4 separate regions of the Homo sapiens genome follow, and all the other regions are linked to region 1. The links are contacts of gene promoters, found by promoter capture Hi-C in blood cells and fetal thymus (Javierre and others, 2016). All regions are on one chromosome and are shown on one strand. The core of a region is centred on a gene start or on the middle of the fragment in contact, and the rest is flanking DNA. Distances in the headings are between cores, read along the strand shown. Region 1 holds the start of FLT1 (fms related receptor tyrosine kinase 1). Region 2 overlaps FLT1 (fms related receptor tyrosine kinase 1). Region 3 overlaps FLT1 (fms related receptor tyrosine kinase 1). Region 4 holds the start of LOC105370135 (a long non-coding RNA gene).

Evidence for each region. The method cuts DNA at HindIII sites, captures the fragments that hold promoters and counts their contacts. A CHiCAGO score of 5 or more calls a contact.
Region 2: a contact is called between a fragment that was not itself captured here and the fragment with the promoter of FLT1 in region 1, in 1 of 17 cell types (monocytes). The highest score is 6.4, in monocytes.
Region 3: a fragment that was not itself captured here is called in contact with the fragment with the promoter of FLT1 in region 1 in 3 of 17 cell types (monocytes, endothelial precursors and megakaryocytes); the score reaches 10.2 in monocytes.
Region 4: a fragment that was not itself captured here is called in contact with the fragment with the promoter of FLT1 in region 1 in 1 of 17 cell types (monocytes); the score reaches 5.8 in monocytes.

Annotation. Positions count from the first base shown.
Region 1 is chr13:28,492,104-28,498,847 of GRCh38, forward strand. It overlaps FLT1 (fms related receptor tyrosine kinase 1), which reads right to left and starts at 3,025. Exons shown (of 30, transcript NM_002019.4): 1 at 2,677-3,025. The coding sequence starts at 2,740. RefSeq lists silencers at 2,511-2,560, 2,641-2,760, 2,881-2,930. The HindIII fragment of the contact is 4,512 bases long and covers 1,411-5,922 here.
Region 2 is chr13:28,377,587-28,384,330 of GRCh38, forward strand. The region is part of intron 14 of FLT1 (fms related receptor tyrosine kinase 1); the gene reads right to left. Among named protein-coding and RNA genes, the nearest start is that of FLT1, 110 kb to the right of the region's middle. The HindIII fragment of the contact is 1,196 bases long and covers 2,322-3,517 here.
Region 3 is chr13:28,393,975-28,400,718 of GRCh38, forward strand. It overlaps FLT1 (fms related receptor tyrosine kinase 1), which reads right to left. Exons shown (of 30, transcript NM_002019.4): 12 at 2,986-3,094. Among named protein-coding and RNA genes, the nearest start is that of FLT1, 98 kb to the right of the region's middle. The HindIII fragment of the contact is 1,120 bases long and covers 2,998-4,117 here.
Region 4 is chr13:28,574,048-28,580,791 of GRCh38, forward strand. It overlaps LOC105370135 (a long non-coding RNA gene), which reads left to right and starts at 965. Exons shown (of 3, transcript XR_941799.3): 1 at 965-1,087; 2 at 5,932-6,073. RefSeq lists an enhancer at 326-1,525. The HindIII fragment of the contact is 656 bases long and covers 2,011-2,666 here.

The sequences.
Region 1 (6,744 bases), core at 1,775-4,274:
TTGGAGAAAACAACAAAAATTGTTACAAAAAATTAACTTTATTATAAGAGATTTATTACATTCAATTTGAAATAGGTATTTTCATGTGCACTTTGATTTAATATTATTAATATGGACTTCCTTCACAAAATTCACAATTTCAGTATTTCCACTTAGTTATAGTAAATTGTAAATGTTAGCTGTTCAAGAACTCAAGAAAAATGAGGGCAAAGAAAAAGGTCTGTAGCTTTCATCCAGGTTGTGATACCTTAAAAGTAAGAAATGAGACTCAGAGCTGGAGAAAGAGGACTGGTATCCTTTATAGAGAAAGAGCAATAGAGAGGACTTGAAAGTATCTGAATTATTGGCATCTTTTTATTTCCCAGAATGTCTGGAAGAGGTAAATAAGCGCTTTAGAGGGGAAAGGCATTATCTTTTTGTAATACTGAGCCTCTGGTTATTTTACCTCTCAATGCATGTGCACACCAGGCATGCACACACACAGAATATTAATAGCTGATAAGTATTCAAAGATTACATAGTACCTGAAGGAAGGCAGACCCAGGTTCATAATGACGCAAGAGAACTCTGCAGTGGGGAACCGTGGCTTCTTACTAGACATTGCTTCCCGGATATGCAGCCTCTCAGTTGAGCATGAAAGCCCTGATGCGGTTTGTAAAGTAGGCGGTAGCTGATTGTTTTACTGTGAGATGCTTGTTAACCAGACAGAGAAACTATGAGTTTTCAAAAGCACCCATGATGCCGACTGAGCTAACATGAACTAACAGAGTGTTCTGTTAACTGTTAGGTAAAGAGGTTCTCAGCTTGCCAATGTTAGTCCTTTCTTCCCAAAAAAGTGCAAATAAAAAAAAAAAAGAAATTCAGAGTTGCAAAACTGCTGCCCCATTTAAGTAAATTATAATCTAAGAAAAATCACAAGAGGATCCCACTCACATTTCTGTAAAGTTTCCACTGATCTAAGATGCTTCCAATTACAAAGAAAACGATGCTTCACTAAAGTCAGCATGTTTTCAAAATAAAGATATAATTATGTGAAGCAGAAAATCTAATAAATCACGTACTTTTCCCTCCGTAATTTTAGATTCATGTAATTTAGCTAGATTTATCTTTACATAATAGTCGAGTGAGGTATTTAAATTCTCTAAGCAATTATATTTTAATACAAGTGACTTTTCAAAACAAAAAATGTATTTGTGAAATAGAAAATACAACATTTTATTTAATATAGTTATGTTAGCACCTTTCCCAACCTACAGTGAGTTCTCAGAAGTTACCACTTCGCCCTGTCTCCGGGTTTAGTAGTTTCTCCAATCTAATTGGAACTATTACTTGTTACTTGGAAACTGACGGTCTAGTTAGTCTTCCCACTGAGAAAGAATATTTAATTATTACTGCTTTTTGGGTTTAACAAGCTTTTTGTTGTTGTTGTTGTTGTACTACGCTCCATCCTATTGACTTTTCTTCCCGGGAATCATTGCAATGACTTATTTTATATTACTATATTTTATTTCATATTTTACCTTTTCTCCACGATGCTTAAAAGAAAGGCGCTCCGAAATCTGGCTCTCTGCGCCCAGGGGAACGAGGCACAAATCTCCGCCACTCAGCCCCACTGAGCAGAGACTGCGAGTCCGAACCCTCAAGTTCCTCGGGGCTTTGACCCCTCAATGGCGGCGGTCTAACTGCTGGTAAAACCCCCGGCCCCTGACTGTTCCACCGCCCGTCTCCCAAACGCCCAGCGAAGGCTGACTTAGGTGGCGGGCGGACCTCATCGATTCCTCAAACCACATCGTTTGGTCAAAATCGCCCGCCCTCTCTTCGCTCGGATTTTAAAGGCTAGGCTTGTAAGTCAGTAAGTTAACGGTATTTGGGCCCTGGGCTGCCCTTGTGGGTCAGGGTCACTGATGTCCGCGACACGGACTGGACCGCGCACCACGCCTGCTCCCGGCAGAGGCCCCACCCGGGTGGCTGAGCGCAGCGCACTGGGGCCCCGCGGTCCGAGAGCGGCGGGGAGGAGCGGGCGCTCGCCGAGCGTTCCCCGGGACAGTCCGGCTTGGGGACTCAAGCGGGTCATGGGATGCCGGCGCTGGCCCTCTCCTGAGATCCTCCTGCTCCCCCGCAGGCACGAGTCCCCTCCAAATCGGCTCCCCTCCTACACTCTCGTGACGCGAGGTCGCGGCCAGTGCCCAATATCACCAAAGTCCCGGCCTCAGCCCAGCCCCGGGCAGCCTGGCAGGCTTTCAGGAGCCTCTGCTCCCGGCTCCGGGGGACCCTGCGTACCTGCCCCAGGTCCTCTGGGAATGGGCTCTGGGTGCCAGGCAGGTCCCGGTGCGTGCTGCTCCTAGTGCCCAGGGCCTCGGCAGTGAGACCCCAACCCGACAGCTGGATAAGGGATCAGCGATCCTGTCGCAAACGGACAGCCCCAGCGCGGACCCGGTCTGAGCGCTGATGCTCGCGGGTCCAGGCCAGCCACTCCTCGAGGCGCTCCCTCGGAGAAAGGGCGCAGCGGCCCCAAGCGTGCCCGCTGCAACTAGTGTCCCAGGTTCTCGCCGTAGCCAGCTTCTCCGGGCTACAGCCTCGTCTCCCCGCGTGCACCCCGCCCTGGCCTCGGAGGCTCTGCCCTCCGGCCGCCCCATCGCAGCCCGCCTCAGGCCCCGGCCCCCAGCCGCGCCTCACCTGTGAGAAGCAGACAGCTGAGCAGCGCGCACAGCAGGACCCCGGTGTCCCAGTAGCTGACCATGGTGAGCGCGACGCGGCCTGCTCGCCCGGTGCCCGCGCTCCCCGCGGCCAACGACCCGGCCGCCAGAGTCCGTCCTCTCGTTCGCCGCCGCCGGCCCCGCGCCCTGAGCGCCCGTCTCGCGGCTCCAGCCAGGAGACAACCACTTCCCCGGGTAATCCTCGCCGCCAGGCGCCCGCTGGCCGCTGCACCCGAGCCCCGGAGCCCGCTCCGAGCCGCCGCCGCTGCCGGGGAGGAGCCGAGAGGAGTGTCCGCCTGGCGCGCTCCGAGCCTCCCGCGGACCTCGATGAAGAGCAGCCGAGGGCGGGGGCGATTTATAACCTTTCCCCAGCCCACTTCCTACCCCGGCACCTCCTTCTGGTGACGTCAAGGGGTCCCCCACCCCTCATCCGCCTCCCCACCTACCCTCTTCTTCCTCCCAGGCTCGCTTCCCTGCGGCTACGGAGAGGGGCGGGGGCCGACGAGGGCGGGTGGCCCGGGGCCGAGCGCGCGTGGGGAGGTGCTGGCGACGCGGGCCCGGGAGCGCGGCCCCGGCAGGTTCAGGGTCTTTGCTCCGCGCCCTCTTGCCCTTGCCCCTCCTCCTGCCCATCGCGCTCAGGAAATCCTTGCAGACTCCCTCCACCCGGCTTACTCAGCTCTGGGGGCCGCCCGAAACTGGGGAAGGGACAAGGCTGAAGCTCCGCCGCCTGGCCCTAGGGGCGGAAAGTCCGATCCAAGGGAAGCTGGCCGCGCCTCCGCGACGGTGTTCTTGGCACGGAGGACTGAGGCGCAGTCCGGCTGTCTCCCCTTGCCTGCTCTTCCCGCGCTGTCCCGCCGCTCCTGACCCCTTCAGACTGTCCCGAGAAGTCTAGGAAGGCACCGGAGACCCTCGGCACAAGGCACTGAACCTGGAGCGCCTGAGGGGAACTGACGCTTGCTTGGCACCTTTGGGAAGACTGCGAACCAGCTCAGGTCCCAGGGGAGCGTGTCCGTGTCTTTTTCGGCCGCATTGATGCACCCGCCCAAGTCATTTCCTCAGTCTTCTGCTTCCTAGAAGCAAAACAAGGAATAACATTATGATACCTTTAAAAAGCTGAGGCGTGAAACTGCTCCTGCAACTTGGAAGCGCAGGGCACTTGAACTTTATTCCCTAAATGCTCGAAAAAGAAATCTTTCTGGTGGCAGCTTGCTACTCAAGATGAGTGACTCTGACCACAACCGGCTGAAATTAACTTGAGGCCCTAGATCATTTGCTATGACACTAATTCCACGTTGTTCCTCAATTATGTCTCCATTACCTCAAAGGCTGAAGTCGTCCTGGCTGCACGGAGCAGCCCAGTCTTGTCTCTGTAAATACCGCAGATTTGAAAAATAGTCCTATTGGAACCCGTCAGAGGGATGTAATACAAGGGACTGTGATGGCTCTTGAACGGAGCCAGAGACTCTTCCTGAAGGACTGGACTACCTCCCCGCCTAGGAAGGTTGGGTAACCCAAAGTTGCCACATTTCTGGGCTGCACACCAAGGAGAGGCCCCGGCCACTCCACACAGGAAATGCACGTCTGGGCACCTGGAGCCGCAGGACCTGAGCCACTAACTGTCCCTGGATCCCTTCTGCTTCAGAGGCAAGGAAGACTGCCGGAGTCATTGCTTGCCTGCTGGCTTCACCAGCGCTTTCTGTTTTTCCAGTTCTCCTCACCACTCTTCCTGGCGCCTTTCTCTGCCTCCCGCACCCCTGCCTCCTCTAAAACCCACAGCATCATCCCTCAGAACAGCTGGAAGCGGACAGCTGATCCTTCTCCTTGCTGGTCCCCCAGCCCAGAACACAGCCTGGGACATACGTGCGGAGCCACAGTGTCTGTTGGTCTCACCTGAGAGCTGCTTGTCACTCCCACACCCTCTTTCAAGGAGAAGCTGTCAGCATTGTCCTTCTGCAGCATTCAACAGGGGCCAGGCATTGGGTTAGGGCTGAAAACACTGATGGAGAGCCATCATCTTTGCCTTCTAAAGGGCTTGGACTGTGATAAGAAGGTGGACACTTGAAGTGGCTGCAGGACCGGCATTCCAGTGCTGGAGGGGTGTTTAGTCCTCCATCAGCTCAGAGAAGTAAAGGCACATTTATTGGCAGGGAAAACCCAAGGAGGGCTTCTCAGGAGAGACACACATTTGACTCTGGGGGAAAGTGGTCCATAGTACCATGTACAAAGGTTTAATTTGCTAATACATTTTTTCAAATGCCATTTTGATATTTTTAACTCATAAAGAGACAACACTTTCCAAACCTGCTGCCAGCAATGAATCTACATTGTGTCTGTAAAGCCAGAACAGGTATTTGATGGACAGCTGAAACAATCTTTATAATCTAAGATGCTAATCAATGATATTAACATGTTGCTCAATTATTTAAGGTTAGTAGAGTCACAGTCGAATCTAAGATTTATATTAAAACTATGCTGCAGTAAGGGTGGGCTTCCACATTTCCCAACTACTCTTTTGAAAAGTTGCTTTTAATTAGAGTCAGCAATTTATTGACTATGACTTCTTTGTTAGTTGCATTAGCGTTCTCACAAAGAACTCAAAAATGCTACAAATTTTAGCTTAGATATGGGGAATAAATGTATAGCTCCCAATCCTCTCCCCAAAAGAGATAATACCTTTGAATGAGAATGGGCTATAGCACTCTCCTAACTAAATCACTAATGAAAGAGGTTTTATAGATAATACTGATGGAGAAGATGGAATTCAACACGCCTGGTGGGTATAAAAAGCTATTGAAGTAGGCAATCTGCTTGCTTCCTGCTCACATACAAAAGAACATTTCATCTCCTGTTTGGTTAGCAAAACCAGACACTCTCTCTTGTTATCAGCTACAAACATTCTCTTGAGGTTTCTTTCTCACCCCTATTCAGAAGCACACTGTTGCTAAATCCATCAGCTTTAATATTCGAGACTGAATAAGAGTGTTGGAGCACCAGTGTGAGAGACAGGAGGGAGCCCAGGCTCTCACCTTCCTCCAAAGACCAAGCATGGAGCTGATCAGCCACAGTCACTGAGGATCAGTCAGGAATTTCTTTTCCACTTGGGTTAGGTAGCTTGATACAAAAGGAAAAATACACTCTATGGGCATACTCTGCATAATGCAAATATGTATGGTTGAATACAAGAACCAAATGATCTCATAAAACCCTTCTGTGTTATATTTTAAAAAGCTTCACAGTACATATCCTCTGGACAGTTCAGGCTCCTTGGTCTAAAAAGCACACGCTCCCAAATCTCTGCTAAGAAGTTCTGCGGAGTTCACCAGGCAGGCACATGTATGAGTTTACTTATCAGATGCTGATGACCCCATTGGCTCAAAAGTCTTGCTATGGGAAGCTACCACTGTGGCTGAAATGCCCCCATTTTCAAAGAACTTAAACATCTTGTACTGGGTTTAAAAGCCATTCAACCCATCTACCGAGTCAATTCGTGGAATTCCTATTCAATGCTCCAATATCTCCACATGAAAATTTATTGAACACTTAAAAACACCTCCTGTGCCATGGGCATCTTGTCTCCAGCCTCAACATCCACATCCCTTTGGTCACTCTTCAGCTGACACGCTCCAGAAATTCCATCCAGCATATCAGTGTCCCTGCAGGTGACACGCTTAGGATTGAAAATGCAGCACAATTATCATTTCCCTACTCCTAGAGGTAGTTTTTCTTTCAGGCAGAGAGAAAAGCCTGTGGGAAGGCCCAGTGGGAGCGAGGAAGGAAAATCGTTCAGGTGGGAAGAGCAGCGTGGAGAAGGAAGCAAAGGGGACAGCCCCCTCCTGGAGATAAGGCCAGTGCCACCGAGAGCAGGGCAGCACTGCCCTGGTGGCACCTCTGGGGCCGCCGGCCTGGGCTCCCTGGCTCCTCCTGTTCCTGCTACTCATGCTCCCGTCTGCTCCTGACTACCTTCTCCCGGGCATGGGTGGGCGCTGCTGGTGTTTATAAGATCGCCATTGGCTTTACTTGGAATTCTCCTCCTGCTACTCCCAGGGGC
Region 2 (6,744 bases), core at 1,670-4,169, 110 kb before region 1:
TTCAGATTTCAGTTTTCTTGTTCACTGCTGTATTTGCAGAGCCTAGCGCAGTGCCAGACACAAAGCAGTGACTTATAAATATTTGTTAAATAAGTAAATATATGAGTATTAGGCTGATAGGACATGCATTCTGGACCTTTACAACTTAAAAGTAACACCCAATCTGAGTTCAAAATAATTTTAAACTTTATACATGTCTAGTTTTTTAAAAATGCTTTATGTGTTTTTAATATGCTTTAAAAATGTTTCAAAACATGCTTTAAAGAAACCAAAGTCTTCAAGAGACTTAATCTTTAATTTACCTTATATCTTAAAAGTAACCCCCAATCTGGGTTCAGAATAATGTTTACCTTTATACATGGCATGTCTAGTTTTTAAAAAAAATGCTTTATGTGATTTTAATATGCTTTTAAAATGTTTCAAAACATGCTTTAAATAAACTGAAGTCTTCAAGAGACTTAATCTTTTTTTTTTTTTTTTTGAGTTGGAGTCTTGCTCTGTTGCCAGGCTGGAGTGCAGTGGCGTGATCTCGGCTCACTGCAACCTTCGCCTCCCGGGTTCAAGAGATTCTCCTGCCTCAGGCTCCTGAGTAGCTGGGGCTATCAGCATGCGCCACCATGCCCAACTAATTTTTGTATTTTTAGTAGAGACGAGGTTTCACCATGTTGGCCAGGATGGTCTCGATCTCTTGACCTCATGATCAGCCTGCCTCAGCCTCCCAAAGTGCTGGGATTACAGGCATGAGCCAGCGTGCCTGACCGAGACTTAATCTTTAAGGGCTGAGAATGAGCAGATATTCATTGTTTTAAATACATGTTTATTGGTGCCCACTATATCATTTAAAACTGATGCTCATTTGTTCTCTTGTGAGTGAGGTGAGCTAACATTTAGTTATGCTCAATGCTAAATGCCCATATGTTCAGTGTGCAGAGTGCAGGCTTCAGAGTCAAATTCTTCTGGTCTGAACCTTGGAGGGCTACTCACTAACTCTATGACCTGGGACCAGTTATTTTTCCTCTCTATGTCTCAGCTTCCTCATCCATTAGTCTGTAAAACGGTCAGAATCATTCAGCAAACCTCACAGAATTGTAATGAAAAGCAAACAAATTAGCATTAGGTAAGTTCTAAAGCAGCAGCAGAAACCTCGCAGGTGCTTGTTAAGTAAAACAGATCTGTGGAATGTATCTAATAATGTCCCTACCTCAAAGGATAGTTGTGAAAATTAAATGAGTTATCTCCAAAACACTTAACACGGTGCCTTGGTACCTGGTAAACGCTCAATAAATCTTATATTGCTATGTTTAATAGAGAAGACATATTAAGATATTATAAAATAAACACATGTAACACCAGAGAACAATGAAGTGATGTGCTCAATGACATGAGTTGTAAATAAACCTAGACATCAGAAAAAAGGAAGAATCACTTCCCTGGAAGGTGAGAGAAGATCTTTCACGACATCAAGAATTAGTGGGGCTGGGCGTGTTGGCTCTCACCTGTAATCCCAGCACTTTGGGAGGCTGAGGCAGGCAGATCACTTGAGGTCAGGAGTTCAAGACCAGCCTGGCCAACATGGTGAAACCCTGTTTCTACTAAAAATGCAAAAATTAGCCTGGCGTTGTGGCATGCACCTGCAATCCCAGCTATTCAGGAGGCTGAAGCACCAGAACCTGGGAGGCGGAGTTTGCAGTGAGCCAAGATTGTGCCACTGCACTCCAGCTTGAGCGACAGCGCAAGACTCCATCTCAAAAAAAACAAAACAAAACAAAAAAGCATTAGTGGGAGGAGAATAACGTAGTGAGAGGAAAGAGAATTTTTCAGGCAAGAACTGAAGGCAGCCCATGGCCCAGAGGACCGAAGGGAGAAGAGGAGAAAGGAAAAAGTGAGGAAGAGTGGTGTCAGGGCGCAGCAGGAAGTTAGTGCTAACGAGCTGGATGGGGCCAAGCAATCGAAGCCCTGAGAAGCCTGACAGCGGTGCTGGGAGTTGGGCACGCGCAGCAGACAGCATGCCAACCCCGAGGTACTCAGGCAGTGTGGTGTGCAAGGCCCTGTCTCTTCTTGTTTGGGTTGCCCTGGCCAAGATTGTCTCTTGCAATCCGTTCACATGCGTTCCAGGGCCTGCATGCTTAAGATCCCTTTTATTCCTGCTTGATGCCCTTTGGCTCAAGAATTTACTACTCAGCTTTTATAACACTTTCTTAAAACTGCCTTTCTTCTGGTGAATGGCTGTGCCCCACTGACAGTTTTTTCCTGAAAGGAAATGATAAGGGAGGAAAAAGCTCCAACTACCCCAAGTAGGCATTTTATAGGCGCTTGTACAAAGCTTGAGCCCTTGTGTGTGCCTCACTTCCTCTCTAATATTTTCTTTGGAATGGGAGCAAGTCATCATTTAAAAAATAACAATGATAATGGACTGGATCCTATCAATGATCCAAGGTCACTAAAATTCTCTTGCTATATCAATCCTTTTTGAGCTGCCAGGCTTCATCTAAAAGGTGCACCTCAAGTATCTAAAGGACACACAGTTTATTTTCAGGGTTTTAAAACTCAGTCAAGCTGGCTAAAGGCTGAGTATATAACAAACTACTTTTCAGTCTTTGCAGGCCATGATCTTAATACTCTTCCATTTCAGTTTTGCAACAATTGGCGAATCAGGGATTATCACTTTGGTTACCTTTATTCATAGGTTTACAAAAAGAAATAGTCATAAAAGAGTTGGCAGTTTTGAAGATACTCATATATACAAACATAAGGGTCATCGTCATGGAGCATATTGCATTGGCTATTGCATTTGCTCCTGAAATGGGAATATTACGTATGGAACTTTACAGAAACTATATACATGGGGAAGATTATCTCCAGAAAATTAAGAAAGCCCTTTCCTAAAGGCTATAGTGGTTTTACAGAGTGAATAAAAGGAAGCGAGAGAAAGAAAATTGCTGACTTGGTATAGCTGAACTTAATAAGTGCTAAATTGCTAAATAGTAGCATCCTAGAATGATATTTATAGAATATTTTGTGTAAGACTTTATATGACCTGTTTTTAGATATTATTCTTTTGGTTTGGCCCTCAGAAGATCAGAGAAAGCTGGGTGGTGGAGGGGTGGTGGGGGGAGAATCTGTATTATTTTGTTTTAGGGTTGTTTGACATTTGAGCTTATTAATTAACTCTGATGCCTTCCAGTGAATTCTGCCAACTCACTGGACAATTTCTGTATAAATGAGGTGGGTCAGAAGGCAGCATTGAACAAGCCAAGACTATGGGCCAGCTTACGTTAACTCATTTAAACCTTACCATATCCCTGTGTGGTCAGAATTATCCCAATTTTATAAATAGGGGAAAAAGGGCTCCGAGAGTAAGGAATAATGAGTTGCCCAAATTCTTATATGACTCATGAGGGCCATGCTAGGACTCAAGCCCTGATCTCCCCAGCACACTGGACTCTTTTTTTGCATGTGGTAGCTGCTGAGACACATTCTCTTGCCTTGTCTCTCCTCTAGTCTCATAATGGTTCTAAGCTTCCCAAATCATTTTAACTCTGATTCTTTAACCCACTTCCAAATTATAAAAACTGAACTTATTTCACATTTACTTCTTTCAAAGAATCACTCAACATCCTACACTAATCTTTCATAAAATGGATTTTGTGATCAAGTAAGTTTGAGGAATACAGAACTTAGCACAGTTGGCCCTGTGCGGTGGGTCACACCTGTAATCCCAGCAATTTGGGAGGTCAAGGTGGGTGGATCACTTGAGGTCAGGAGTTTGAGACCAGCTTGGCCAACATGGTGAAACCCCCATCTCTACTAAAAATACAAAAAATTAACCAGGCATGGTGGCAGATGTCTGTAATCCCAGCTACTCAGAAGGCTGAGTCAGGAGAATCACTTGAACACAGGAGATGGAGGTTGCAGTGAGCCAAGATCATGCCACTGCACTCCAGCCTGGGCGACAGAGCAAGACTCCATCTCAAAAACAAACAAACAAACAAAACAAAAACAAAAAAACTTAGTACAGTTTACCAATTTCTTTCACAAGCTATTTATTCATGTATTTATTCATCCTTTTATTCTGGGAGAACCTCTCAAGGGACTAGCTTTCCACAAAACTACCCATCTTGGTAGTGTGTCATCTTAGGCAAATCACTTTACCTCTTTGAGCCTAAGTTTTCCATTCTACATGTTAGACTAAAGATACTCTAAAGGTCCCTTGAGCTTTAAAACTTCCATGATATGGGCCCCACCCCCATGCCAAATCGAGGCTTTTGTGCTACCACTATGAGTTTGCTAAGGATAGCCTAAGATTTTCTGAAAACCATTTATTCATTCATTCATGGAACATTTATTTATTAATTGTCAAGTACTGTGTTAGGTTCTGAAGATGAAAAGACAAGACATAAATAAGACAAATAAGATAAACTATCTATCTGCCCTCTGGAGGGGAGACATATATGAACTGGTGATTTAAAAAAATACATAAGAGAGGAGTAGAAATATGCATAGGTAATACTGACACACATGAACTGATGATTTTTAAAAGTCTCAGCAAGAGAGAAGTAGAAACAGTTATAAGTAATAAAGACTCACGGAGGATCTGCCTCCTATTTGTGGGAGTTGTGTAAGGCCTAGTTGGAGAGAGAACACCCAATCTGGGTCTTAAGGGATGCGACAAAGGAAGGGAAGGTACTCCAGGCGGAGAGTAAACAGGAACCAAAGAAAGCATAGGGAGTTTAAACAGCATAATGTCTGCAGTGATCTACCAGAGTTTGGCACTGCTGGAATATAAAGTTATAAAATTCAAGTCAGGCGACTCTGAGCATAACGTCGTAGGAGTAGGCAGGGGCTAGATATTGAGGGCATTCTCTGTCAGATTCTTGAACTTCATCGAAGTGTGTTAGGGTTGAAGAGTTGGAGCCGGTGGAAGACTTGAAGCAGGGAAGTGACATGTTCACAGCTGCATTTTATACTGTTGTGTTGAAAGTAGATGCAAAGAGAGATAGGGAGACAAGTTTGGAGACCACTGAAGGTGTTCAGAGGCTAGGTAATGAGTGTCTGGACCGAGAGAATAATGGGGAAGCAGAGAAAGGAATGGATTTGAGAAATATTTAGTATTTAGTAGGTGTAATCTGCTCAGTCTGGTGATTGATTAGATGAAGAGGGCAAAGGAGAGACCATCACCTTCTAGTTTGGATGATTAAATATTTGATGTCAGTATAAGAGGAGGTGCTACTTTATGGAGAAAAATGAAGTGATGTGATTGGTTTTGAACCTGCTGAGTGTAAGGTCTCTCTAAGACATTTGCAGATATCTTAAAATTTGGAGTTGTTATACCACAACCCCATTCTGTGCATCAAACTCAAATGGAGGTTTCATTTTGTGTAGAGGACTTACATTTAAGGACTACTCCATATTGCTGTTTATTTGATTTAGATTGTTGGAATATTGGAAATAAATGGCAATTTTATTTTTAATAAAATATGAATATCAATTAAAATCATAAATAATTTCATTGTACTCTTATTTAACCACAGATTTATGAAGCAGGCAATAGACAGTGTTTATACTTATTGGTTTAAGTCTCGTTGTTTTTAAGAGTACAGTCAGCCCACAGCGAGACTCCATCTCAAAAAAAAAAAGTACAGTCAGCCTTCTGTATATGTGGATCTGCATCTGTGAATTCAACAAAAAAATTCCACAAGTTCCAAAAACCAAAGAACTTTTCACGCACCAAGTACTACATTGAGTTCACATGAAATGATGTGTAGGTATTGTATCAGGTATTAAAAGTAACCTAGAGCCGGGTGTGGTGGCTCATGCCTGTAATCCCAGCACTTTGGGAGGCTGAGGCAGGCGGATCACAAGGTCAGGAGATCAAGACCATCCTGGCCAACATGATGAAACCCCATCTCTACTAAAAATACAAAAAATTAGCCAGGCGTGGTGGCGGGCACCTGTAGTCCCAGCTACTCGGGAGGCTGAGTCAGGAGAATGGCGTGACCTGGGTGGTAGAGCTTGCAGTGAGCTGAGAGCGCACCACTGCACTCCAGCCTGGGCGACAGAGCGAGACTCTGTCTCAATTTAAAAAAAAAAAAATTAGCTGGGTGTGGCGGCGGGCACCTGTAATCCCAGCCACTTGAGAGGCCGAGGCATGACAATCGCTTGAACCCAGGAGGTGGAGGCTGCAGTGAGCTGAGTGAGATCGTGCCACTGCACTCCAGCCTGGTGACAGAGTGAGACTGTCTCAAAAAACAAACAAACAAACAAAAAAAGTAACCTAGAGATGATTAAAGTATGCAGGAAGGTATGTGTAGGTTATATGCAAATACCATGTCATACCATTTTATATAAGGAACTTGAGCATCAGTGCATTTTGGAATCTGCAGAAGGTGCTGGAACCAATTTCCCACGGATCCCATGGCACTATATGTATTGTTGAAAGAAAATAAACCTATACCCACTGGTGTAGATTTATGTTTTTTACTAGTATGATCAAACACAATTTAAAAAGTTTTCTTTTTACCAAATCCTTAACATCTGCGTAGATGAATTTAAAAGATTATAAACTGGCCAGACGCAGTGGCATGCGCCTATAATCCCAGCACTTTGGGAGGCCAAGGCAGGTGGATTACCTGAGGTCAGGAGTTTGAGACCAGCCTGGCCAACATGGTGAAACCTTGTCTCTATTAAAAATACAAAAATTAGCCTGGCATGGTGACAGCACATGCCTGTAGTCCCAACTACTTG
Region 3 (6,744 bases), core at 2,308-4,807, 98 kb before region 1:
TTAGACAGGCACTTTTAAAGCATTACCCTCACTGAGTCAAGTATAAACACTGAACAAATATATGTTCATTTTTTTCAAAAAATAAACATATGAGGTACAACATTCATGAGTCTTTACTCTCATCTCTAGTGACAAAGATTTGAGTGAGAGAAAGATAATAATTATTTAAAAACTAATAATGAACGTAAGCAAGTTAACCTAATATCACAATCAAAACCAGAACTTTTCAGGACTGGTAGAAAAGGATTAAGGGAAAGTATATTCCAGGCAATGAGGGCTTGGTTGACTGGACTTGTGTCAGTTTTAAAGTTAAAGCTCTTGGATTTCTAGAGGAAAAGAACTGTGAGCTTCAAGTAGGTATGTCTGAATCGAATTCTCATTTTGTATGGATAAGCCTTGGGATCTAGAAGAGGTTTCCACCCCGCCATGGTTATACATTGTACAATATGGTGAGAGGTAGGAGGGAATTTCTGCCTGAATTCAGCAGGAGATCACCTTTATCAACTTGGGCCCTTTCAGCAACAACACCATGGGTAGAAATATGATGCAGCGATGAGACTCTGGGCTAGCCAGAGGTTGGTGCTGTGACTAATGCTAGGCATCAGTTAGCTTTCATTGGGAACAGTGATTAATAAGGAAGTGAGCATGATGTTCCCCTTTTCTCTTAGCACATCCTCTTCCAGTACTGCCCTCAGACCCAGGCAAGAAGGATCCCTGTCGCAGCTCTGTTCTGGTCGCAGCTCTTCCCACAATGTGAAGAGTTTATGGGGCCAAGTGAGCATGCCTACCGACAGCCTGTGTCACTCCATTCCTATATCATGATCCAGGTCCCTGGGATCTCAGAATTCCCTATAAGGCTGATTTAAATCTGCTTCTAGGTTGGCTCTTCCCTAGGTCTGGCCTCCTGAGATCAGACTGCTTGTCAGTATTCACACCTTTGGGTCTGTCCAGGCAGTGGCCAAAGGAGACTATCTGTGAGGGGCATGGGGAGAGCTTAGATGTGTGGGCTGGGAGACACCACACATGGTGCATGGCCCCTTGCAGTGTGGACAGGGTAAGGGGCGGAGAGGGGAGGTGGGTGATTTAGTTTTTCTGCACGGCCAGGTGCTGCCACAATCTGCTCTGGAATCTGAGTAGTCTCAGAGCTCTAAATTGATCCTGACCTCTCAGGTCATCATGAAAGTATATTTGTCCATAGGGGGCTAAAAGGTATTTAATGGCTTGTTTGCTTGATGTAGAACTTGTCAGTAGTTAGACGTATGGTTTGTGGGCCTCCACTGGTACTCTTGTCTTGGCTCTGAAAATGTCAGGGCAAGTCTGTTTTCTTCTCTCCACCTATTCAAATCCCACCTTCTCTCTTCCTGTTCAGGTCCTGCTTCCTTCTCAGAGGCTTACAGCTGCACTGTCCAATATGGTAACTGTGAGCCACATGTGGCTTTTGAGCACTTGAAATGTGGCTACTGTGTCAGAGGAACTGAAGCATATTCAGTTTATTTGATTTTATTTAAATTGATTTAAGTGTAAAAACTGAAGCAGTGTAATATTTTTAAAAAATACTGATTACATATTGAAATCACAATAGTTTGGATATATTGGGTTAAATAAAATTAATTTTACTTTTAAAAAAACGTGGTTACTAGAAAGTTTTAAATGGTATTTGTGGCTTATATTATATCTCTATTGGACAGTGGTGGCTTTAGAAAGCAAGCTCACCTGTCACATTACCTCTGCACATAAATTTTGATACTAGGATATATGTAATTTGACATTTCTTGTTTGTTTCCTTGGTGTTAGAAACCTGTTCCTAGAAAGACAGGACTTCATTGATGTTCCTCCAAGTGCTCAGTAGAGTTGAACTGTACCATTTAACAGTGCTGATTAAACTGTTACAAAGTTATTGAATGTTCAGAACAAAACAGGAATTTTTCAGTCTTTTGTATTCTAAATCAGACATACTACGACTATGGGTTGAGACAGTAACTTGTTTCCAACCAAATATAAAGGACAGTGCAAACCTTTGTATTTAATTAGTCCAAATCCCATTTGCTCATCTGGAAAATACAAGAGCTATGATGCAGAATAGCCTCTAGAATCCCTGACAGCCCTGACGTTCTATGAGAATCTACTCAGGGATATCTCCCATGGCACAGCTTCTCTGGGGCTTGGCTAACTTGCCAGAGGCCCCTGTGATCTGACAACACATATGTGTCATGGAATTGGACATGTCTATTTCTTTCTGGAGAACTTTTGGCAATTTCTGCAGCCTGCCCCGGGCAGTGAGAAGTTTCCAGAAAGTTGGCTTACTGCCCATGTTTCCTCAGAAATTGGGGGAGTGTGGAGCCAGGCAATTGTTTTTATACTTTGAGCTACTTACTTCCTTCCTGTACCCATTGAGGGACATAGGGAGTGCCATTTGTGTACCTTGGAGGTTTTTAAGATTTGCAGAGACCATCATATTTAAGGCTAAAAATTCTTAAATGCTATCAAAAAATAGCACATTAACTATTGTTAATAAAGCTCTGTTTCAGATTGCTACAGAGCCTCATTCCCCAAAAAGTCTAAATTACCTAAGTTGTAAAAAAATTAACCTTTTGGTTAAAACAAAAACAAAACCAAAAACGATGTCATCATATTATATGCATTATAATTGGTTTCCTTGATTGGTATTGAACTGCTATGTACCAGACCCTGTGCTAGGTACTGAAGGGAATGAAAAAATGAGCATACAAGATTCCCAATTCATAATCCAGTCTGGGAGGGAGACAAACACAAATAACTCTAAAAGAGAATACAGGGAAATAACTCCTTACGAGATCCGATGAGGTAGAATTCTATTCCTGAGAGCAAGGATGAAGGCACTCAAAGTTTGACAATTCTATGGAATTAAAAAAAAATCACTCAAGCTATAAATGCACTAAAAGCAAACAAGACTGAAGAGAGAATGAAGTCACCAGGCTGTCTCTGGTTATAGGATGTGTGGCTTACCTGTGATATAAAAGCTTATGTTTCTTCCCACAGTCCCAACTTTATTGGAAGCTATGCAAATGTAGATTCCAGAAATTCTAGAGTCAGCCACAACCAAGGTGCTAGCCATCTGCAAAAGAAAAGGAAACTTTAGCTAGCAACAGGACAAATAACTAATTGAACACCCCAAGCTACTTCTGAGGTTGAAATGATTCAGCTACTCCATTCATTCTGCAAAGAGAGTATTGCATAGGTGGTGGTTACCAGAAGGCTCTCCCCTTGCCGAGCCCCAACAAGAATGGAAAAATAACAGGAAAGCAGGTCCTCAGGAGACCGGGGCCTATGACATCCGACTCATATGAGGGTTTCAGGCTTATTTATCTCGTGCTGCTGGCGTAACAATTACAGACCTGAAGCTGAGATGTGGGACTGCACGTCCTACCCTATGAGGTGGTCAGTTCCACATCAATGAGAGGAACAGGTGAGGCTGAGGCCTTCCCTTTTGTTTGGGTGACCTGAGAGCATAGATGCCAGTTATAACAGGAGCCTTCTCTGCTGTTTGGTTCTATAACAGGCATGTTAAGTGAGCAAGGACAGAAGATAATGTTTGGCTGAAACTTTTTTTTTTTTAAGAAATGGGGTCTTGCTATGTTGCCCAGGCTGGCCTTGAACTTCTGGGCTCAAGCAGTTTTCCCGCTTTTGTCTCCCAAGTAGCTGGGACAACAGGCACATGCCACTGTACCTGGCTTGAAACTTTTTTTCTATGCTCAAATAATGTGGCATGCAGCACTGGATGGTCCTGAAGGAGACCGTGTGTGTGTGTGTGTGTGTGTGTGTGTGTGTGTGTGTGTGTGTAAATTACCTAATTTCTCTTAATAAATTAAGTATCTATTCCTAATCTAGAAGATGAAAATTTAAATTATGAATTAATGCAATTATATTGTTCCACTAGACTTTAGTGCTATTATTTGACAACTTAGTCCCTAAAGAAACATTAGCAGTCAAAATTGCATGAACTTGAAAGCACTTTCCAAATTCTGATGTCTAAAAAGTAATGAAACAAAATTTTAGACAACTTAAAGACTTGCATTCTTCCAAAGAAAAAAAATTGGCAATATGAAACAAATTGTTAAACATTCTTAAATTTAACCCAAGCTTGCATTAAAAAGTAGTGTATAATCTATATGAAAAAAATGAGAAAGCTAGTTTCTCATACTTAAAATTATGGAAAAGAAAAGTTAGTCCAGTTACTTATAAATCTTTGCAGCCTATGTCCTAGGACAAAAATAACTGGTTATGGGCTTTGAAATTGCAGAGGCTGTGCAAATGATTCCAGACTAATAGAGTGTCCTTGCTGAAGTATAATGACAAGTGACTTACAGGCTAAAGTAATGTAAGGCTGAAATGTGACAGCTGACTTTCCAAGGTGGTGGACATACTCTACAAGTGGTTTGGCTGTAGGAGAGAGTCCTAACATTTTCTTGAGTTTCTAAGTAATGTGCTAGGCACTTTAGTTGTGTTCTCTTATCCCATCTAATAAATTAAGGTATTTCTGTCTTTAATCTACAGATCAGGAAGACTTAAACACATGTTCCTCATGTTTTTAGCCAGCAAATTCATTGGTCCAAATTCTCTACAATTTTCACTGTGGTATAGTGAGTAGTACACAGTGCTTTCTCTTCTGTTTGTTGGAAGGATCTGCTTAATTACACCTACCCATATACTCCCTGTGTATTATTGAAATTATTGGTAATGAAAGTGTCTGCAATATGTGGCAGACAATTTAGCAGACATTTATTGAGTGATTATCAAGGCATTGCCCAGATGTTGTAAGAGAGACAGAGATGAATATGACACAATCCCTCCCTTAACATTATCATTCTTTAAGGTGATAGAGAAGAATTTCCCTCCTTGAAGATCATACAAAAATTATTCTCTCTTTTGCAAGGAAAGCGCATATGAAGGCAAATAATCCATGGGAAAGTGTACGAAAGAGAGCTCAGGTGTCCCTTTTCTTATTTTGATGATGAATCTTTTTAAGAGGTGGGACATAAAAAATTCTGAATAGCCATTTCCTTGTAATTGTTGTACCCACCCGTTTAGAGTCACGGAAGGAAATGGAAGTAGTTGGAAGAGAAGCTTGTAGGTGGCAACATGAAAGAACTGTTAGCTGGTGGAAGCTGGAAGACAGGAGAGATCGTCAAATACGACTCTGACTCCCTTACATTGTCTCAGGAAGCTTAGACCCTTCAAAGCAGTATGCAAAAAATTCAGAAACAAGGAGCTCAGATGAAGCCTTTTTAAGCTGGGGTGTCAGCTCCAGCACTGTTTTTTTTATGAAGTTAGTTCTCAAGTGTTTATCCTAATGGGCCTCAGGAGAAACTTACTTAGATTCTCAGATTAATTGTTGCTCAGTAAGTAAGTGAAAAACCCATTTCTGTTGGCTTGGGAGTGTTTGAAATTATGGACAGCATTTATCTGCATCTATGAGTCATGTTTGGGTTTTTATTTAAAAGATTTTGATTTCATTGAACTTAGAGCAACCGAGAACAAGAACTGGGTTTCGTGGCAAGGGAAAATCAAGTCAGATGTATACATTTGCCACATTTAAGACCTGTGTAGGTAACCTGGGAATGGCCGTGGCCATTTTACAAGTCCCCAACAAATAGTCAAATAGGTCCAAATTTATGTATAATCAGAGAATAAAACTGAGGTGCCCCGAAGTGAAATGAATCCGGGTCACAAGATGGAGACAGAAATGTATTGAATTTTTCTTCTTTTGTGTGAATGACACCTTCCAAACAAGACACATTACTCGTAGTCAAGCCTGCCCCAGAAATCATGTCTCCAAAGCTTCTATTAAAATAGAAGCAGAAAACAACGTTGATGGGAGTTTACATTATTTCTTTGTTTCTGCGAACCTTTATGTATGCCTTACAATGCACCAGGCAGCATGCAAGGCACTTTACAGGAATTGTCTCATTTAATCCTCCCCAAAACCCTGTGAGATGGGTATATTACCCTATTCTACAGGTAGGACAACTGAGGTTCCGAGAGATTAGATGATTCACCCAAAGATGCAAAGGACCACAGACAGGCCTGGGCAGAATTTATGCTCAGGTGTGTCTGCCTCCGCGCCTATGCTCCTAATCTCTACACCAGATTGCTTCTCGCCTTGAGACTCTTTAAGTTGAATAACACAGATCTATTGGCAAAATTCTGTCTACACCTTTAATTGAATTTTTCCTTGAGAATACTTCCTTTAATCCGCAGAGATGGGTAACATAAATTAAATACTACTACTATTTACAGAAATACTAGTTGGCTTCTCTGATGACATTTTACATAAGCTGCAAGCTGCTCTTCAACTGTTGTTATGTGGTTTGAAAATATATTTGATAAATACAATGGTTATCACTAAAGAAGAAAAGTTAAAAATAAGGTGAAACATATCCTATGATCAGTTTTATTAAAATTTATCTCATTTCTAGAGTACTTCTCTTTCAGGGGATATATTTTTAAATTATAAATTCAAACATTTTCTCATTAAAAATAAAATTATTTGACAATTAAAATTTAAACTTTATAGGGCCAGAGAAAGGAGCTCAGGTGCAAATTGTAGATCAGTGTAGTCTGGCTGGACTAGAAGGCAGCTTTGCATGAGACAGTGAGTTTCAATGTCTGAGTCTTCTGAATAAAGGAAAAAATCTGTTCCTCAGTCCTTATATCCAAATACTATGGTGTTAAGGGAAAAAAACGAAAATAGCATCACAGTTAGGG
Region 4 (6,744 bases), core at 1,089-3,588, 81 kb after region 1:
ACGCCGGCCTTGCGCTCCTCTGGATGGACAAACAGCTTTGAGACACTGGCCATGCTACCCTCCTAACCCACATCCAGAGCTCTAGGGCACTTCTTCAAGTGCAATTCTCTGCCTATCTTGAGCAATGTCCCTCTCTTGGCCCCACCCCACCGCTTCTCTCTTAAGTTCCCTTTCTTCCTACCTCCAAGCATTTTGACACATCTAGATATGACCTATTGGATCTCTGGATTCAAACGCAAGGCCTGTTCCAAAATCAGTTCTAATCCCACATACATATGGGTCTTTCAACATTTCCTTGTTATCTCCATGCTCTCCTCTTTGGGGTGTCCAAATGGATCTTAACTACCAAGTCCTCAAGTGTCACACAGGTTGTGACACAGTGGGCACATGGGAGGTGGGATGCCAGGGGTTAATCTGGCCTACTCAGAGGGCCAAGAAAGAGCCAAAAGGAAATGATGTTTCCAACCATTTCCTTCACTTCACCTCTGTATCATTAATTTTTTTTTTTTAATTCCACAATTTTCCACCTCCTGCCATTTCTCTTGGTCTTGTTCCTCTACCTTCTCTGTGAAGCCCTTGTCAAGGCCATCTTGGACCCACAACTAGAGTGGGAAGCCAAGGATGAAGGGGCAGCAAAAGGCCCTGGAGCAAATGTTCAAGCACAGAGCCATGCACACTAGGCCACGAACTTCCCGTCACACATGCTCTGGAGGAAGAGGAAATGCTTGACGCATCATCGCTCAGATTGCCTTGGTGGAAACTGCTTTCGATGGTTCACGTCTAGCAGTGTAACTCGATGACTCACAAAACAGCCTTTATTCATTGACGTGTTCTTCAGAGGACTCCATGAAATGACTCACACCTCTATTTACTAGGTTTTATTGGGAATGTGAGGTGAAATCTTTTCCCCTGGGAACAGGAAGTTTTCAGTGTTTCTTAGAAGAGGACGTGGGGACCTGATAGCAACACACATGTTGTTGATGGGCGGACTTTCTCTATCAGGGAGGCTCAGCTGGAGCAACAGAGCAGCATTTCTGGAGGAGGGCATATCAGTTTTGACACCTGTTTTCAGAATCATCCACAGAAGGTAAGGCTGGACGAAATGTTTCCTGTTGTGAATATTTAGAAGAGAGTCTGAGAATCAGAAAGTATTTTACGGAGCATTGATGAAAGGTTCAACAACTGTGTCTTGTGACGGCAGTCATTGATTTTTTTCCTATTGGGAATATGAGGGTATCCACAGTCAACGGGAAACGAGGGGAGGCCCAGTCAACCCCAGCACCCCAAGGATGATTGCTTGCTCACGGGAACTGAGCAGACTATGAACTCAATAGCCATAGACTTTGGACTCCCAGACAGGTGTGACAAGCAACAGCCGGGCAGATGAGGGACTTTACACCAGAGGCCAGCAGATACCACAAAGCAGATGCCTTCATGCCTGCAGGAGCCCAGGGGCCCTCTCTTCCTCAACGGCCACAGAACGAAACAGCCACACTCCCCATCCCCCAACATCAGATGCCATCTTAGGGAAAGAAGCCAGAGGGAGGCAAGGCCATCTGAGAGAGTGAGCGATTATACAAGAGAAGCAATTAGAATCATCAAGTGATTACACGAGTAAAAATCATCAAGTGATTTACACAAGTGATTATAAAAGAGAAATAATTGAGGCCGGGCATGGGGGCTCATGCCTGTGATCCCAGCACTTTGGGAGGCCGAGGTGGGCAGATCACCTGAGGTCAGGAGTTTGAGACCAGCCTGATCAACATGGTGAAACCTTGTGTCTACTAAAAATACAAAATTAGCCTGGTGCAGTGCTGCATGCCTGTAATCCCAGCTACTTGAAAGGCTGAGGCAGGAGAATCGCTTGAACCCAGGAGGCAGAGGTTGCGGTGAGCTGAGATTGCTCCATTGCACTCCAACCTGGGCAACAGGAGCAAAACTCCGTCTCAAAAAAAATAAATACATAAAAATAAAATAAAAGAGAAATAATTTAAATTTTGGAGTGGGGTAAGCTTTAACCTGGATGAGCCATTTCATGAAAATGTTCCCAGTAGCCAATGGATGGGGACAGAGAAAAATAAAAATGATCCAGTTATTTATAGACCAAATTAAATCATGGTGGGTTAATCTATATGTCAAATGGTACCTGCATGAATTGGCAACCCTGCTGCACAATTGGTTACGTAACACTTGTTACACATCAGATCCTATCCCAGAAGTGGGGGACAAATTCCAGTTTAAGACAGAGGCAGCTGGGAAACAATTACTATAGCACTCTTGGTCAGCTCTGTGTTGGGGGAATGCCTCAGAAGCCCAGGGGCCCAGAAGAAGGTTATTTAATTCAGAATACAGGCTCAGAGAAGGCTTCCTGGGAGTTGGGACCTGAGCTGAATTTGGAAGGACAAGCAGGTGTTACCTATTTGGAAGGACAAGCAGGTGTTACCTAGAACTTAGATTCTAAATGAACAAACAGAGGAAGCACTTCCAAGGCCAGAACAGCAGTGGGGAGGCACAGAGGTGAGAAGCCCGTGATGAGGTCAGGGGAGGGAGAGGAGCCTACACACCTGGGTGTGCAGAAGAACCAAGAGATGAGGCCAGAGGGATAAGCGGGGGTCAATCAGGAAAAGACTTGGGAGGTGAGCTAAGATGTTTGAATTTTGTTTTGAAGCTTTGAAGAATTATTGAAAGTAGTGGGCACCTGTGATCCCAGCTACTCAGGAGGCTGAGGCAGAAGAATCATTTAAGCCCAGGAGGCAGAGGTTACAGTGAGCCAAGATTGTGCCACTGCACTCCAGCCTGGGCAACAGAGGGAGGCTCTGTCTCAAAAAAATAAATAATTATCAAAGATTCTAACTAGGGGTAGCACAGAAGCAGATTCTCATGGGAAAAAGGTAGTTAAAGTGGGAGGGTGGAGGATGAGTGAAGGGGGGCAGGGGAAGGGGGACCAGTGAGGCAACGATGGTAGAAATGATGACAAACCGTGAAGGTCTGAACCCAGATGGTGGTGTTGCAAGTAAGAAGCAGGATTTGGGTTGAAGACATAGCTGAGAGACAGAATCTACAGGATCTGATAACTAATCAGATGTGGGAGGTGAATGAGAGGGGCAGAGGGGCTTCCAGAGTTCTGGCTGGATGGTAGCGCCAGGGCAAGTGCCTTGCTCCAAGGGGAATACCAGGGCCACAGTGTTCGGGGGCAAAAAGGAGGCATTGGGCTTGGGGTGCGATTGATGATGTGGTACCTGACAGCCAGTAATTCAGAATGTCTCCAAAAAGTAAAATGAAAACTTGGACTTCTCCTTGCACTTGTCACTTGGGCAGTTATTGGAGACCTTCATAAGAGCAGGTTCAGTGGGGTGACAGGGATAAAAGCCAATTTGCAGTGAATGAGAAAGTGAAGTTACTCTCTTCTCCTGATGCCTTATTCTTCCTGGGGGGCCGCTGTCTTGCTGAAGGGCCCCCTTGGAAACCAGAGGGCATCACGGACTCCTCCCTCTTTCCACATGATGTACTTGGCCAGTTTTTGAGTTCTGTTGATCCCTTTCCCTTAGGATCTCTTGATGCCATTCCCTGTTCTCCACACTCCCTCCCGCCTTAATCCAGTCTTTCCAAGATTTGCTGCCTAACTTTAAACAAAACTGAGGAATATTTTTTAAAAACACAAATCAGGATGAAGTTTCACTTATAAAGTTCTTCATGACCAAGTCCCCAAGATTCCTCTCCACCCCCCAATGCCTCCCATTCTAGCTCTGCTCCCCAAAGCCCTCTGCTCTGCCTGGACTGAGACCCCAGGGATCCCCCCTCCCTTCAGCTCTCAGCTCCCTGTGCTCATCGCTAGCATGGTACCCCATGGTCAGCACTGCCACCTGTTCGTCCTTGCTCTCCCCACCCCACCGCCAGCTCTTTGAAGATGGGGACCCCACTGTGTTCATCTTTTGTGTCCACAGCCGCCAGTAAAGTAGCCAGCATGGATGTACAAACTCAATACGTGTATGCTGAATAAAGAAATGAACAAGTTGTCAGTTCTCCAAGAGACTTGATTATGAGGGGGTTTATGATTCAAAGTGATGTCTTTTTTTTTTTTTAAGATGGGAGAAACTGAGGTTTAGATGCTGAGAGGAGTGAGCCAGCAGAGACAGAGAGAGGTTGAAATACAGGAGAGAGGAGGATTACGTGGAGCCATGCCCCTGAGCATGCGGGGTGGGATGAGAAGGGGGTGGGAGCTGGAAGGCACAGGAAGCAGGGACCTGGGGGTGGGGAGATGCCAATTCCATGGGGCAAAGGTGGGCTTAGAAGCAGAAATGTTCCCATGTGCTTGAAAACGAAGTTGAGGGCTTTTTCTCCTGATGGCCTCTATCTGCTCAGCAATGAGGAGGCAAAGTGTGAGAGTGAATGGGATTGGGCTAGGGCAGAGGGTTAGCAGAAAAGTGAAAGTTTGGAAGAACCACTAGGCGGGATGAGTTGGTCATGCTGTGGTGACAACGCCAAATCTCAGTGACATGACACACGACCCACACTCATTCTCACTCTACTTAGAAGTCCAGTGCAGCTGGACATCAATGATCTGATTCTTAGAATTTCTCAAGGGCCCAGGCTGGCTTCATCATTTTTGGGAAAATGCAGTGCCCCACCTTGCGGCTGGGATGCCAGTCTCCCTTCCCGCAGGTTCTGCTGCACCCACCCATAGCCGATGGCCGGCCTCCGAGGGGCTGCCATCTCCACACTGGAATGCACTTGGTACCCAGATTGGGGTGGGCATAAGGCCCTGTTTTAGCTTCCCACTGAGTGTGTCGGGGGGTTGACACCTGCTGCCTTGCTCTGCCCTGAGATGCTGCAAGCCGTATGCCCAACTGCTGTGGCTTGAATGTTTTTGTCCCCTTCAAAATTCTTGTGTTGAAAACTTAATCCCCAATGCAACAGTGTGGGAGGTGAGGCCTTTTGGGAGGTGCTTTGGTCACTGGGGCTCTGCCCTCATGAGTGGAATCTTGCTTGCCATTGCAAAAAGGGCTTGTGAGAGTGGGTTCACTCTCTCTTGCCCTTTCGTCTTCTGCCTTCTGCCACATGTGGATCAAGTAAGAAGTCCTGCACCAGATGCCAGCACCTTGGATCCCGGACTTCCCAGTCTCCAGGACCGTGAGATAGTCAATTTCTGTTCTTTATAAATGACCCTGTCTCAGGTATTCTGTTATGGCAGCACCCAACAGACTAAGACACCAGCCTGCCACATGTGTCCTCCTGGGCCCCCACCAGGGATGGAGAGTGACGGTGGAACGTGGTCTCCTCACTTCGTGTGACCCAGCTACTTCCCTGGGTAAAGGGCAGCATCTGTAGTAGGGTGGGGGCAGGGAGGGGAAATTGGGCAGGGCCAAGGCACCGGGAGAAGAACAGATGTCTGAGAAAACATCCTGGGAGTCAACAGGAGGCAGGAGCACGCATGCGTGAGGCTCCACATTCCTGGCAGGCTCCATTGTCTCGTTACACTTCACTTAGGGAGCACAAGTTCAAAGGTAAAATTCTGAAGAATTTCAAGAGAGCAATTATAGAGTGTTAAACCCTAACCTTCTGGGTGCTTGTCCTGTGCAACTGCACTGGCCCCGCATGCCCGTGGTACAGGCCCTGCCTCTTCCCTCCTTCCCCTCCTTAACATCCTGCCTTCCCTCCTTCCTCTCCTTAACATCTTGCAGTGGCTCACATTCTTTTTCTTTTCCTCTTTTTTTTTTTTTTTTTTGCAAAAAAATCCAACTGCTTTAACCTGGCTTTCAGTTTTAGGCCTCCTAACATACTGTTCTCACTGCCTGAACATGTTTACGCCCTCCTCAAATGTCCCTTGGCCTAAGTCTTATTCATCATTGAGATCTCGATTTCAGCACCACTTTCTCCAGGAAACATTCCGAGACTCTTTTGTTTAAATGCCTCACTTATTTGGTCCCACAGCACAAAGATCAAATGCAGAAGGAACTGCACGTGGAAAGGCCAGCCACATACATCACAAAAAGAGGACTGAAGTCAGCACACAGCTTGAAAGCCGGACTACAGGCCTTTCTTCAAGAATGGCTGGAGTGACCCTGGGGACTTGGTAGGATATAGGATGGAAGCCTTTGTGATTGTGCTGTTATTAACACATACAGGGGTATAATTGCCAATGGTCCACACTTTTGTTTACTTGCCACGTGAGCCATCTAAGTATCCTGGGATTTTATCGTCATTACCTTGGCACATGCTAAATACTCAGTTCCTATTTGCGGCCGAATCATTGAATAAAAGAATTATATTTAATAGTTATATGCTCAGGTTATTGTAGCACCCTAAGAATGTAAATTATCCATTTTAATATCAGGGTTTCCTCAAAAAATAGAATTATTCTCTGAAACAGAGGATCTTTACCGGAGTTCCCCAGGGACTCCTAGGGAATCCATGAATTGGTTTGGGGTGGAAGGACTACAAATCCCAAAGATTGAATACTAAATTTCGTGGGTACATGTAGTTTGGGGAGGCAGATGATCAAAGTTTTCAGTATTTTTGAATGCATTTTGACTGGTCAAAGGTAATAATTTTTTTTTTTTTTTTAGACAGAGTCTGGCCCTGACACCCAGGCTAGAGTGCAGTGGCACAATCTCCGCTCACTGTAACCTTCGCCTCCTGGGTTCAAGCCATTCTCCTGCCTCAGCCACCCGAGTAGCTGGAATTATAGGCACCCACCACCATGCCTGGCTAATTTTTGTATTTTTAGTAGAGACGGGGTTTTGC